2 separate regions of the Homo sapiens genome follow, and region 1 is linked to region 2. Evidence: promoter capture Hi-C in 16 types of primary human blood cells and fetal thymus (Javierre and others, 2016). All regions are on one chromosome and are shown on one strand. The core of a region is centred on a gene start or on the middle of the fragment in contact, and the rest is flanking DNA. Distances in the headings are between cores, read along the strand shown.

Region 1 (7,298 bases), core at 503-3,002, 1.1 Mb after region 2:
GGTCGTGGCCGTCCAGCACCTCCAACTCCACGATAAAGGGAATCTGTACGTCCCGCTTCAGAAAGCGCCAAAAAGGTTTCTTGGATTCCAGGGCCCAGAGCAGCCCCATGGACTCTAGCCCCCTAAAGCTGCCGCCCAGCACGGGCGCGCGCTCCAGGTCCAGCTCGCCGCGGGCGTCGGCGCAGTAGCGGAAGAGCCCAGCCTTCTCGTCGCGCAGGGACGCGCGCGCAGCGTGTCCAGCGGCTCCGAAGCCAGGCCGCGCATGGTGATGCGCACCGGCTTGTCTCGGCAGCCGCGGCCCGCGGGCTCCAGGATCAGCGTTGCTGACATCTCGGAGCTGGAGCGGGGAATCTTAAGGTCGAGGCCCGAGGCCCGTCCAAGATCGTGGCAAGTGCGCCGATTGTCCAGAGGGCGTCCGGCGTCCCCTGGTGCCGGGAGCGGCCGGTGGCTGAGCAGTCCCAGAAAGCGCCTGGGACTTTAGACCAGTTAACCCGGCGCCCTGGACTCGTCTGAGGCAAAAGGAGCCAGACTCCTCTCCTGGGTCCTCTCCTTGGGCCCCGGGGAGCGCAGACTTTTTTTTTTTTTTTTTTCCTTTTTTTAATTTTGAGACAGGGTCTCGCTCTGTCGCCCAGCCCGGAGTGCAGTGGCCGATCCATAGCTCACTGTAATCTCGATCTCACAGGCTCAAGCTATCCTCCTGCCTTGGCCTTCCGAGTATGTGGGACTACAGGCATGAGTCATCACGCCTGGCCTAAGCCATCACGCCTGGCCTGATTTTTTTTTTTTACTTGGAAAAAAATATATACTTCACTCCCACAAAGTATTATTTTAGACTCCTGCCCCGTTATTCCTAGAGAATTAAAATTTCCAAGTAAAGTAAAAACAAAAAAGTAGTGAAGACAGAAGAGTATTTAACCATATCGCTGTAGAAAATTGTATTGAATATTCTAAGGCATGTGCTTGTCCTTTTTGTGTCTGTTGGTAGAAAAAGAATAAACATTAAACTCAGCTTAGTATTTCCAAAGTAGTAAGAAACACTTTTGCACATAAGGATACTTTGGGAAACCTTGTTTCCCCCACTGTCTTTACACTGAGTGAGTAACAAGGCTCTGTAAAGACGCAGGGGAATTGGTCACTAGCAGGCAAGGCAGACATCAAGCACTGTAAGAAATCAGAGACTGACTTCAAAGAAAACTCAGCGTTTACTGATAAATTGTGTTATATTACCCCATCAATGGCTAGCCTTCATGCCATGAAAATGCATCCATGTTAATGATGTCACTGTCTTACCTAACTGCAGGTGACAGCTGCCATGACATAGAAATGACATTGAACTTAAGGAAAACACTATACTGTTGCAAAATCCTTGTTAAAACCAAACATCTTAAATGCATTTGAAGCAGCGTGTCTAAGCCACGTAAAATCAAACCCTTGATAGTTATTAGCTGGCCTTCTTCTATAAAGAAAGCTTTCTTTTTTCTTTGTGCTTATTTAATGGGGTACAATCAATTATAGACATAATTGGTGGCACAGGGAAAATAATTATTTCAAGTAGTTTTTAAACACTAGCTGTATAACTAAGAGGGACATATAAAAACAGGGATTGGCAAACTTTTTCTTTAAAGGGCCTGATAGTAAATACAGTCAATCTTCATTCACAGATTCTGAATTTGTGAATTCATCTACTTGCTAAAACTTTTTTATAAACCCAGAGTCAATATTTGCAGCACCTTTGTGGTCATTTGTGGACATCCGAAGAGCGGTGAACCTTTTTGAGTCCCTTAACAGGCATGTTCTCAGCCAAAGTCAAACAAAGTGACCCTCTATCTTCTTATTTCAGCTCTCATACTGTAAACAGGTACCCTTTTTGCAGTCCATTTAGTACCTTGGCTTCTCATATTTTTGTTTTTTGCTGGTGATTTTGCTGTTTCAAAGGGACCCCAAATGTAGTAGTACTAAAGTGCTGTTGATGTTCCTATGAATGAGAAAGCGGTCATGTGTCTTACAGAAAAAATACATGTGTTAGATAAGCTTCATTCAGGCATGAGTTATGGAGCTGTTGGCCATGAGTTCAATGTTAATGAATCAATAATATATATTAAAGTGTTTAAATAGAAACACAATAAGGCCAGGCGCGGTGGCTCATGCCTATAATCCCAGCACTTTTGGGAGGCCAAGGCGGGTGGATCACCTGAGGTCAGGAGTTTGAGACCAGCCTGGTCAACATGGTGAAACTCCGTTTCTACAAAATACAAAAATCAGCTGGGCATGGTGACATGCATCTGTATTCCCAGCTACTCTGGGGGCTGAGGCAGGAGAATTGCTGGAACCCGGGAGGCGGAGGAGGTTGCAGTGAGCCAAGATCCCACCACTGCACTCCAGCCTGGGTGACAGAGCAAGACCCTATCTCAAAAAAAAAAAAAAAAAAGAAAAAAAGAAAATAAACACAATAAAATAAGCTTATGCATTCATCGGTTGACTAAAATGTGACCAGATGCTTACAGGAAACTAACCCTGTATTTCCCCTAGAAGCAGTGGAATGGTATTCACTAATTCCGTGTTTGTAGCAAGTTTATAGACCATAACTACTGTGAATAGTGAGAACTGACTGTATTTTAGGCTGCGTGGGCCATCTGGTCTGTGTAACTACTCGAGTCTGTCCTTGTAGCTCAAATATAGCAATAGACAGTACACAATCAAACACGGCTATGTTCCAATAAAACTTTTATTTATGGACACTGAAATTTGACATGTATGATTTTCATATTTCACAAAATATTGTTCTCCTTTTCATTGTTTTTACCATTTAAAAATACAGAAATGGAAAATATAGGAACTGGCTTCCCCGAATCTCCGGAGTCACACGGTCTCAAATCCCAACAGCCACACCCAGTGAAAGAATCCCACCCAGGAGCGCGCCAGGGACAGACTCGCAGCGCCGTCCTCGCTCACAGGGCTCCCTAGTTGGCACTATAGAGAGGCGGTCGCGGGCGCCCCTCTTTAACGCGCCAGCCATCTGTCCCCGCTCCCCTCCAGGCCCTGCCGCGCCGTCCCCAGGCGCTAAGGGACTCGAAGCGCAGCCTCGCTGGGACGGACCTAGCTCCGGCTCCGGGTTCACGCAGAGCAGGGGCTGCACCAGCGAGCGGACCCTTGAGACTGGCCGCGCCTGCGCACTCCGTGAGCGCGCCCGGCCCTCCCAGCAGCCTCCGCGCGCAGCCCGTTAGGCCCCGGGGATTGTGGCGTGACCCGGCAGCGGCTTCCTCCGTTCGGGCATCGCTGTGCCTCGGGTTCGCGCCCCGAGTGAGCAGTCCTGGCCCGGAGCGTCGGTCCTGGTAATCTGTAGGAAAAGCGCTGCGGCCCAGGGGGTAAAGAGAGGTAAGCGGGGCCACTGCAGTATCGCAGAGGGGCGGGAGCCCGCGCCTCAGGCCCGGGTGTGTGTGTCGTGGGCGTGACGGGGCCGGGGCTGGGACGTGACGGAGTCTGTGCGGCTGACTTGGGTGCAGAGACTATTGTATGAGCGAAGGTTGTTGTGGCCGTGGAGTGCGTGACTGACCCCAGCATCCTCTGCCCACACCGGGCCCAGCTGCAGAGAAATGGCCCTCGGTCAGTTTCTGCACGCCAAAGACTCCCAGCAGAAACGCGCAGACTAGGCCGGACCAGGTGGCTCACATCTGTAATCCCAGAGCTCTGGGAGAGCGAGGCGGGAGGATCGCTGGAAGCCAGGAGTTCGAGACCAGCCTGGGCAGCAAAGCGAAACTCCCATCTGTACCAGAAATTTAAAAAATGAGCCGGGTGTGATGGCGTGCTCCTGTGGTCCCAGCCACTCGAGAGGCTGAGGCGGGAGGATGGCTTGAGCCTAGGAGGAGATTGAGGCTGCAGCGAGCTATGATAGCACCACTACTCTCCAGCCTGGGCAACAGCGAAACAAGGCTCAGACCCGACCTTGGGATAGGAATATTAGAACTGAACGAGCCCCCGCTCCCGCCCAGGCTTGCTCCTGGAAGGGACTCCCACACCACCTCCTCGCGGACCCGGACCCACGCACGTGCACTCACAACTCTGAAGAGTCCAGCTGCAGGTTTCAGAACCACAGCATTGCTTCCAGGAAGCTATTGTGAACTCCAGTTCTAGCCCCGGGCATCCATGACCCTGGCCTTTCTTTGATACTGGGAAGAGTTAACAACACCATCTCTCTTATGTTACTCTGGTTATGTGTGGGTGGGCGGTGGGGGCATTGTGCCCTATGCGAGGCTGGGCTGCAAGAAAAGCCTGGTTCCCTTATTAGCCAGTCCTGCCCAATTCTTTAAGAAAAGGGGTCCGAGCGGGAGGAGGAATGAATTGCTGTTGCCTGTTTAAGTCAAGGTCGAGGCGAGTGGGTGTTTCTGCTTTCTTCTGTGAAATGCATTCTTATTTCTTAGGACATGAGAATATTTGTTTCATTCTCCATAAATGTCCTGTCCATTGAGCTGATACCTAGGTCCCCTCCCGAGAGCCTGTATGCACATACCCATTTGGTAGATGTTTTTCATTACTTCTGTGGGCCTTCTTTTAATTACTATGTGTAAAGTTCTTAGAACAGTTCCTGAGACCTCGTTAGTACTTAATAAACCTTAGTTATGTATTCTTAAGTAGTGATTTGGAGCAATTCTACATCAGCCTTCTATAGATGGGGGGAAAATGAAAATACTAAGCCAATTGTGGTGAGTATTTCCTAGTAAAAAATAAATGAGCCAGATCAGATGCTTAAATAGTCTAAAACAGGAATTCTTTTTTTTTTTTTTTTTTTTTTTTTTTGAGACAGGGTCTTGCTCTGTCACCCAGGTTGGAGTGCAGTGGCACAATCTCAGCTCACTGCAACCTCCCTTTCCGTGGTTCAAGCGATTCTTATACCTCAGCCTCCCAAGTAGCTGGGATTACAGGCCTGCACCACCACACCCAGCTAATTTTTGTATTTTTAGTACAGACCGGGTTTTACCATGTTGGCCAGGCTGGTCTCAAACTCCTGGCCTCAAGTGATCTGCCTGCCTCGGCCTCCCAAAGTGCTGGAATGACAGGCATGAGCCACCGCCCCCAGCCTAGAACAGGAATTCTTTTTTTTTTTTTTTTTTTTGAGACGGAGTTTCGCTCTTATTTCCCAGGCTGGAGTGCAATGGTGTGATCCCAGCTCACCGCAACCTCCGCCTCCCAGGTTCAAGCGATTCTCCTGCCTCAGCCACCCTAGTAGCTGGGATTACAGGCATATACCACCACGCCTGCCTAATCTTGTATTTTTAGTAGAGACGGGGTTTCTCCATGTTGGTCAGGCTGGTCTTGAACTCCCGACCTCAGGTGATCTGCCCGCCTTGGCCTCCCAAAGTGCTGGGATTACAGGCATGAGCCACCGTGCCCGGCCATAGAACAGGAATTCTTAACCAGAAGTAATTTGAATTCATTTGAGGCTTTCAGGGGACCAGATACTCTTTGAAATTGTACGTAAAATTGTTATAGATATCTGTTAATATGCCACTTTTATGGGGAGAAAATATGTAATTTAATGAGATTATCAAACATGATCCATTAAGATTCAGATCTACTGGCCTAGAATCAAAGTCTGTAACCTTTGAGAATGTTTTTCAATGTTAGACACAAAATTAGTGTCTAATAGTAGGAAATGATTAAATAAGCCACACTCCATGTGATGCAGCTTTTTGCCATTAATAAATACTGTTAATTATGAGAAGGAAAAAAAGCTTGTGATCGATGTTGTCTAAGCAATAGTTTTGAACAAGATGACTCACAAAACCTTTAATCATGTATGAATCGCTCTTAATAAGCTAGAGATTTATAAAACATTTTGCAAGGATTATACATAATATAAAACTAGTTTCTTAGTGGAGAAAAAAAGATAAACTGTTGTTTACCACACTGTTCTGTCTGCTTTGGTATACTTTTACTGAATTTAGGAATGTCGCTTGATTGTGTTCATTCATAGAAGAATCTTGAGAGTGAAAATAGCCCATCGTTTTGATGAAGAACAGTTAAAGAACTGATGGGTGTTACTTATTTGTGCCACACTGTTGTTTATTTTCCCAAAACCCACTCATGTCACAGGCTTATAGAATCACAATTTTCTTAACAACTAAAAGATATTCCTTCTTCACAACTCTGTTTTTAATTCTATGTGTATGAAAATAGTTTAATTGGCTGGGCGCAGTGGCTCACGCCTGTAATCTCAACACTTGGGAGGCTGAGGTGGGCAGATCACCTGAGGTCAGAAGTTTGAGACCAACCTGGCCAATATGGTAAAACCTGTCTCTACTAAAAATAGAAAAATTAGCTGGGCACAGTGGCGCCTGCCTGTAATCCCAGCTATTTGGGAGGCTGAGGCAGAAGAATTGCTTGAACCCATGAGGCAGAGGTTGCAGTGAGCCGAGATCCTGCCATTACACTCCAGCCTGGGTGACAGAGTGAGACTCAGTCTCCAAAAAAAAAAGAAAGTCCTGGTTTAAGCTGCCAACTATATTTAGTACTATTCAGAACAGATTTTCTCCATCCCCTACCACCCAGTCATCTTCACTCTATAAGAATAAAATTTAAGTTGCCCGTAGTCTCACCATCCACAATAAATATTACTATTCTAATGTTTGCTTTTCCATTTTTTTCTGTGCACTTGTGCACATGTGTTTGTTTTCCAAAATAGAATCACAACAATTGATCATTTAAGGAGACAAAGACTCTGCAACACTTTGTTTGAAAAAGGAAAAAGAGGTTGGGCCTGGTGGCTCACGCCTGTAATTCCAGCACTTTGGGAGGCCAAGGTGGGCGGATCACCTGAGGTCAGGAGTTCCAGACCAGCCTGACTAACATGGTGAAACCCTGTCTCTACTAAAAATACAAAATTAGCCAGGCGTGGTGGTGCATGCCTGTAATCCCAGCTGCTTGGGAGGCTGAGGCATGAGGACCACTTGAACCCGGAAGGTGGAGGTTGCAGTGAGCCGAGATCTTGCCATTGCATTCCAGCCCGGGCAACAGGAGCGAAACTGTCTCAAAAAAAAAAAAAAAGTATTTAATATGATACCTTATCAAAGCAAAATTCTTGAGCTGGTTTTATGATATGGAATGGTGTCCCTTTGGAGCTACTAGGGATGGAAAGTAACAGGGGCCTTGCTCTACTTTTTGATTTCTGTGAATCCTTTTTTGATAACATTATTAAGAAGAATTACATAGGCCAGGTGCGGTGGCTCATCTCTATAATCCCAAGACTTTGGGAGGCCGAGGCAGGCAGATCACGAGGTCAGGAGATCGAGACCATCCTGGCC
Region 2 (6,800 bases), core at 1,401-3,900:
TTGATTCTGTGCAAGTGAAAAACAGGGACTATCTGCTTTTAAAACTAAAATTTGACCTATGTGGGTTCTGAAAGATGTTACCTGCCTTAGCATCCAGCTGCCTTTATTTCTTAAGATGCTACAGGCATTGTGCTTTGTCTGAAGGTTACATAAAGATCAAACGTAATAATTTTTTAAAATTAAAATATTGTTTTGACATTGCACTTTTTCATTAATGGTCAAAATCTTATTTTCTAACTCAGAAATAGAAAGTCAAATACTGCATGTTCTCACTTATAAGATAATAATGTGTACACATGGATATAGAAAGCAGAATAATAGACACAGATGACTCTGAATGGAGGGAGGGTAGGAAGCGGGTAAGGGATGAGAAATTATCAGATTGGTACAATGTACATTATTCAAGTGATAGTTACACTAAAAGCCCAGGCTTCCCCACTGTGAAATATACCCATGTAACAAAACTGCACTTATATCCCCTAAATCTATTTTTTCAAATCTTATTTCCATTTTATTTGCAATCCCATCTCAGCCATTTTAATAACTATTAGTTCAATTTTAATTTCAGTGAGGAACAGTTTCTAAAAGTAGCTTACATTTTGTTTTGTGGCGGTTGTGGCTTTATCTGTCTTGAATTTTTTCTGCCAGGACTTTATAAGGAATTGATTAGTGGAGGTTAAAAATGGCTATGCCTAAAATATATAGGACAAGGCAAAAAGTTTCTCAGAATACAATAAATTCCAAATCTAGTTTCTCTTCCTTTGATAATTTAAGTTGAGCCTAGATAAAAGTATTTTCTAAACACTCTGTTTGCTCTTTCAGCCAAATCTTTTACATTATCATTTTATTTTATTTTGTTTATTTATATTTATTTATTTATCTTGAGACAGAGTCTCATTCTGTCACCCGGGCTGGAGTGCAGTGGTACAATCTCGTTTCACTGCAATCTCCACCTCTTGGGTTCAAACGATTCTCCTGCCTCAGCCTCCAGAGTAGCTGGGACCTCAGGCGCCCGCCACCACGCCCGGCTAATTTTTGTGTTTTTAGTAGAGGCAGGGTTTCACCATGTTGACCAGGCTAGTAATTCCTGACTTCAAATGATCCACCCACCTCAGCCTCCCAAAGTGCTGGGATTACAGGCATGAACCACTGCACACAGCCTACATTATCATTTTAGATACTTACTCAGTAAATTTGTTTTCTAACCACGGGCAAGGTCACATCCATCCCCGCTGTCACAGAGTCAGAATGGATTTCCAGAAACCAGCCTCACTCTTGGGATGCTGGCACAGATGCGTATGTCATTACCTTTGCCAGAAAGAGCCTTAAAGGAAACATTAGGAAAAAATATGCATTAGATCCCTAACAAGAATAGAAGCCACGTCTTTAGTAACATGTTACTTTAGATAAGTTTAGCACGCGATCCTTTCAAATTATTTTCATTATTGTAGAGAACAATAAAAAGGGTGTGGGTTCAAAAAAGAGTTTTCAGATGGGCCTTGGTGGAGAGGAACTGGCTGCTATTCAGCTAGGGAGTGTCACCTGAGTGAAATGTGTTCCCGCTATGCAGGCTTGCAGCCTCAAATCTGTGATTTTCCCATCCCCAATCTCCACATTTCAGGACCCTCAACACCAACCCCTATAAGTCTCCTAATCAGACACGCATAGTGCCCCCAATCACTGGCCTCCAATCTCCAACCCTCAGAGGTTTTCATAGTCACTGATATTCCCCTATGTTCAAATCTGACCAGGAGAGACTACAGGTCAGTAACTACAAAGAACACCGATCCGATCTGATTGCCAGTGAAATTACACAGCCCCCAATCATGAATCCACACTGATTGCCAATGATATCCCAACGACTGAGGATCAATTGTTGATTCTCACAGTCCCACTCCCACCCACAAGTGACAGTCCGAATCACTGAGCCTCATTGAGGCGTACCTTTAAGATAAGCACACTTGACTCTATTCTCCATTCCCTGATCTACAAAAGTCCAATCGTTAATACTCTCCGATCCTCCACCGATGATATGAAGTAAGTCTCAATCACCGATGGCCCAAAACATTTCTCCAAACATTCATCACCACTGACCTCCCTCATTTGAACCCCAAAGTTTCCACAATCACCAATTCCAGTACCCAAACTATTACTGCCCACAGAACTTAGAACCTCCGATCACTGATCCTCTCGGGCTCCGATCATTAACCTTAAAGATCTCTAAACCAGTGTCTGAAAAATCCCAACTGACCCCAGACCCATGAAGACCACTATTACTGACCCCATGCACCCTGAAAATCAAGACATTTCACAGAACTCGCATTTATTGATTCCCACACACTCCCAATCCATCTTCTTCAGAGACCGTGCCACTGACTCCCGCAAACCTCTGTCCGCCACCACTGAGGCCCCGCGAGGCTCAGACGCCGAATCTCTTAACCCTTCAGTTCCCTTGTCATTGACCCTCACGGGCACCCATAGCTGACCCAGTCGGCCACCGTAGTCGGCAGCTCACTATCCTCCACTAGTCCCAGGTTTGACCGTTTCTCAAACCGTGCCTTCCCATTTATGCTGCATCCGCGCCCTGAATCTGAAATTGGTCGTCCTGCCACGCCGCCTCACCGCGGTATAAGGTCGTCCCATCCTGAATGGCCGGTGCGCAGACTCAATTGCGACTTTGAGGCTGTCAGCCGCCACCCGGCAACCTTCCAGTGAACAGGATTCTGGGTTTCTCAAAGCTGTAATTGGAGGTATGATGGCGACGCCCACTTGACTCCTACCTGGGGCGGCCATGTTTAAAACTGTGCCGTAAAACGGATGATTAAGCCCTTTGCTAGACCAAAAGATAAGGCTATTTTAGGACAAGGAGAAGGAAGTGTCCCTGGATCCCTAAACAGAGATGTCGTCTCTGCTCTTAACTCAGCATCTCAGATGCCAAAACCTCCTGTGGCCAACATGGTGGCGCCCAGACATCAAAGCTGAGCTTTCTTTGTCTCCGGCAGCCTGGTAAGATGGCCGCGTACATTTTTACCGCTTCTTACGTGCAATGGGTGCAGCCTCTCCTAGGAGCTCCCCTATGGCAATGTGAAACTCTTTCTGAGCCAGCTCTAGGAGTTAGAGAGCAGCGAAGAGACTCGCTCTTAGGGAGACAGAGACAGCCTAAGGACGGGCGTGACTTCACGGAAAGGGCGGAGCCGCAAGGAAAGGGCGGGGCTGCCGCAGCGGGAAGAGATCAGAGTTCTTAGCGCATAATGGAAAGGAAATGTTGAAAGCAAGGTTTTTACCTAAGGAGGCTTGCCCGAGAAGCCGACCTGAGGAAAGAATGAGTGCAAGCAGTTTATTTGGTAGGTGGGGGATGGAGAAGTGAGACGGGAGCGATGGGAACGAATATACAGTGCATAGGTGAGCAGATTAGCTCTGGATCAATGAGGGCTCAGTCAGCTTGGGACCTCTGGGGGATTGTGTAGAAACCACTTCCAAGTTTTCACAACCACCAGGCCGATGAAGCTTACATATGTCTACACCATCTCTCTTCCTAATTGTTTTAGGGCCACTCCAGAGGTGTTAAAGCTCCAGCACTTCGAGCCTGCCTCGTGGGAAAGTCTTAGGCTGAGTCTGTAGGTGTCTGCAGTTAAGAAGCCAGCGGTCTGCATATGATTGCTCAGGGGTGGTGGCTGGGTCCAACAGCATTCACTACAGGCCTGCCTTGAATACCACCTAGCGCAGTGCTCCGCATATCACAGGTATTGGAACATCTCTAGAAAAGATTGCCTTGTCTTATGAAAATGGCTTTTTAAAAAAATCCTAATTCCAACTGGTCATCCTAGCAACTGATACAATAACTGACCTCAAAATGTTTCCCAATGATTCCTACCTCCTACTATTCACACTCTTATGTAGTTCCCTCCCACATTGTACCAGGGTTGGACTGTGAGACTAATAGAATGCAGTAGCAGTGATAGATGTCACTGCTGAGATTAAATATAATAAATGGCACCTTGAGTTCTGTCTTAAAGGCTGCTGCCCCCACTTTGAGAGAAGTTAGTTGCCATGTCATGAGGATACCGAGACAGCCTATGGAGAGGCCCAGGTAGCAAGGAACTAAGCCCTCCACCCAATAGCCTGGGAGTAGCTGGGGCCTTCCTATAACCAAGTGTATCACCCTTGGAAGCACATCTCCCAGCCCCAGTCAAACCTTGAGATGACAGCAGCCCCTGCCAATAGTTTGACTGCAACTGCGTGAGAGACACAGTCACAAGCACTCAGCTATAGCAGCTCCTATATTCCTCACCCTCAGAAAGTGTGTAAGATACTACATGTTTGTTGTTTTAAGCTTCTGAGTTTAGGGTAATTTGCTATGCATCAGTAGATAACTTCAATGCTGTGTTAAAATGCTACAATTGACATTTCTTCTTTTTTTTTTTTTTTGAGACGGAGTTTCGCTCTTGTTGCCTAGGCTGGAGTGCATTGGTGCAATTTCAGCTCACCGCAACCTCTGCCTCCCGGGTTCAAGCGATTCTCCTGCCTCAGCCTCCTGAGTAGCTGGGATTACAGGCATGCACCACCACGCCAGGCTAATTTTGTATTTTTAGTAGAGACGGGGTTTCTCCATGTTGGTCAGGCTGGTCTCGAACTCCCGACCTCAGGTGATCCGCCTGCCTCGACCTCCCAAAGTGCTGGGACTACAGGTGTGAGCCACCGCGCCCAACCCCATTTCTGAATTCTTTAAATAAAGTTCCTAAAGTTGCGAGATTATTCTGTCAGAGGAGATTATTACCAGTTTCCTCTTCTTCCTTGCGATGGAAAAATTAAAGGCCTATGGCTCTGCTAGATTTTTAAAATTTAACAAAGAGGTCAAGGGTCCTTGCTTCATTTGATTTAATATAAGTGGTTTATATGACAACACTTTGAAGTGATTATAGTAATTAATTTAAAATCACCATTTAGGCTGGGCATGGTAGCTCACACATGTAATTCCAGCACTTTGAGAAGCCAAGGTGGGCAGATCACCTGAGGTCAGGAGTTCAAGACCAACCCGGCCAACATGTTGGAACCCCGTCTCTACTAAAAATACAAAAATTAGCCGGCATGGTGGACGCCTATAATTCCAGCTGCTCGGGAGGCTGAGGTAGGAGAATCACTGAACCCAGGAGGTGGAGGTTTCAGTGGGCCAAGATTGTGCCATTGCACTCCAGCCTGGGTGAGACTCTGTCTCTAAAAAAACAAAAATAATAATATTGAAGTAAAATGAGTATTTATAAAGTGCCTATTAAATGCCTGATTGATCACTGGCCTGCTCACTTCAAGGGCTGTTCTTATTCTAGGATTAGACCAATAAAGCAGCCACAACTGGTAAATTGTCACTCATGAAGGCCGAGGGAAAGACAGCCTTTGAGGGTCTTTTGCTGGGAATTAAACGTTCTGCCTCAAAAACTATACATGTCATTTCCATTCACTAGTCTTTGAGACGTCACATGGCCACCCAGGAGTGTGATAGCAGACATGTAATCCTACCATAATTCTGGGATGGGAAGAGCTGGCGATATTTTGGAATAACATTAAAGACTGCCACAAACATTGTAAAGATAGTGTTATCATCACGCTTCAAAAGAAACTGCAACACGGGGGTGAGGTGACCTGTCCGTAATCATTCAGTGAGTAAATAAAGCAACAAGGATTCAGAGCTGGGTGTTTCTGTGTTATTCAGAAGTAAAGGATCATTAGCATCATTATTAAATTTTACCCAAAATTTATTAGAACCTAAATATATCTCAGCAACTGAATTGGGAAAAAGAAGACTGAGTACTCGAGTAAAAATAGAGGCTACTCAAGGAGCTGACCTCTTGATTGGGGAAGGAGTACACATGGAAAGAGGAAACAGGTAAAAGAAGAGTACACACTGTAGGACTCCAGTCATGAGAAACTCAAGAACAGGCAAAACAGATCTATTGAGTTATAAATCAGAAAGCAGTTGACTCCAGGGGCTATTTTTTTTTTTTTTTTTTTTTTTTCTGAGACAGAGTCTCTACTCTGTCTCCCAGGCTGGAGTGCAGTGGTGAGATCTCCATCTCGGCCCACTGCAACCTCCTTCCAGGTTCAAGTGATTCTCGTGCCTCAGCCTCCCAGGTAGCTGGGATTACAGGCATGCGCCATCACACCCGGCTAATTTTTGTATTTTTAGTAGAGATGGCGTTTCACCATCTTAGCCAGGCTGGTCTCAAACTCCTGACCTCAAGCGATCCGCATGCCTCAGCCTCCCAAAGTGCTGGGATTACAGGCGTAAGCCACTGTGCCTGGCTGGGGCTATGACTTCGAAGATAATTTAGGGGGTGAGGAAAATGTTCTATGTCTTGTTTTATGTGGTAGTTTCATGGGCCTACGTAATTGTCAAAGACTCATCAAAGTGAACACTTATTTGTGTTATTATATGTAAATTATACCTTCATTTTTAAAAGAAAAAGCATACTATTCAGAGTATTGAGTAATGATGTGGGCCAGGGAACAGAGGGAGTGAGAAAAGAAGTAACAGAACTTTATCATAGTCTGCAGAAAGATAGGACCCTGCCAAGGTCATCATTAGCATTTATGGCCTATGACAGTGTGATTCCTCTAGGCAGAGGAATTCGAGAAAGGAGCCTCTAGGCAGACTAGCTCCAAGGCTCTGGGCTAACCCAACCTGCAGTGACCATCAGCTCTCACCTGTTCCAGTGAGCTTATGCCTATAGGTCCAAGCCTTGAACTAAATGTGGTGGCCCTAGACACTGTCATCATTTAAAAGGGTACAGGGCCCCAAATTTGGC

What was found. The method cuts DNA at HindIII sites, captures the fragments that hold promoters and counts their contacts. A CHiCAGO score of 5 or more calls a contact.
Region 1: a fragment that was not itself captured here is called in contact with the fragment with the promoter of ZNF793 in region 2 in 2 of 17 cell types (total CD4 T cells and non-activated CD4 T cells); the score reaches 5.5 in total CD4 T cells.

What each region holds. Positions count from the first base shown.
Region 1 is chr19:36,414,569-36,421,866 of GRCh38, reverse strand. It overlaps ZFP82 (ZFP82 zinc finger protein), which reads left to right and starts at 3,223. Exons shown (of 5, transcript NM_133466.4): 1 at 3,223-3,375. It also overlaps the pseudogene ACOT4P1. RefSeq lists enhancers at 1-164, 3,695-3,854. The HindIII fragment of the contact is 563 bases long and covers 1,471-2,033 here.
Region 2 is chr19:37,502,789-37,509,588 of GRCh38, reverse strand. ZNF793 (zinc finger protein 793) reads right to left here and starts at 2,650. Exons shown (of 8, transcript NM_001013659.3): 1 at 2,623-2,650; 2 at 1,186-1,324. It overlaps ZNF793-AS1 (ZNF793 antisense RNA 1), which reads left to right and starts at 2,502. Exons shown (of 3, transcript NR_110723.1): 1 at 2,502-2,750; 2 at 3,549-3,743. RefSeq lists enhancers at 2,434-2,583, 2,149-2,940, 2,941-3,732. The HindIII fragment of the contact is 7,284 bases long and covers 1-3,509 here.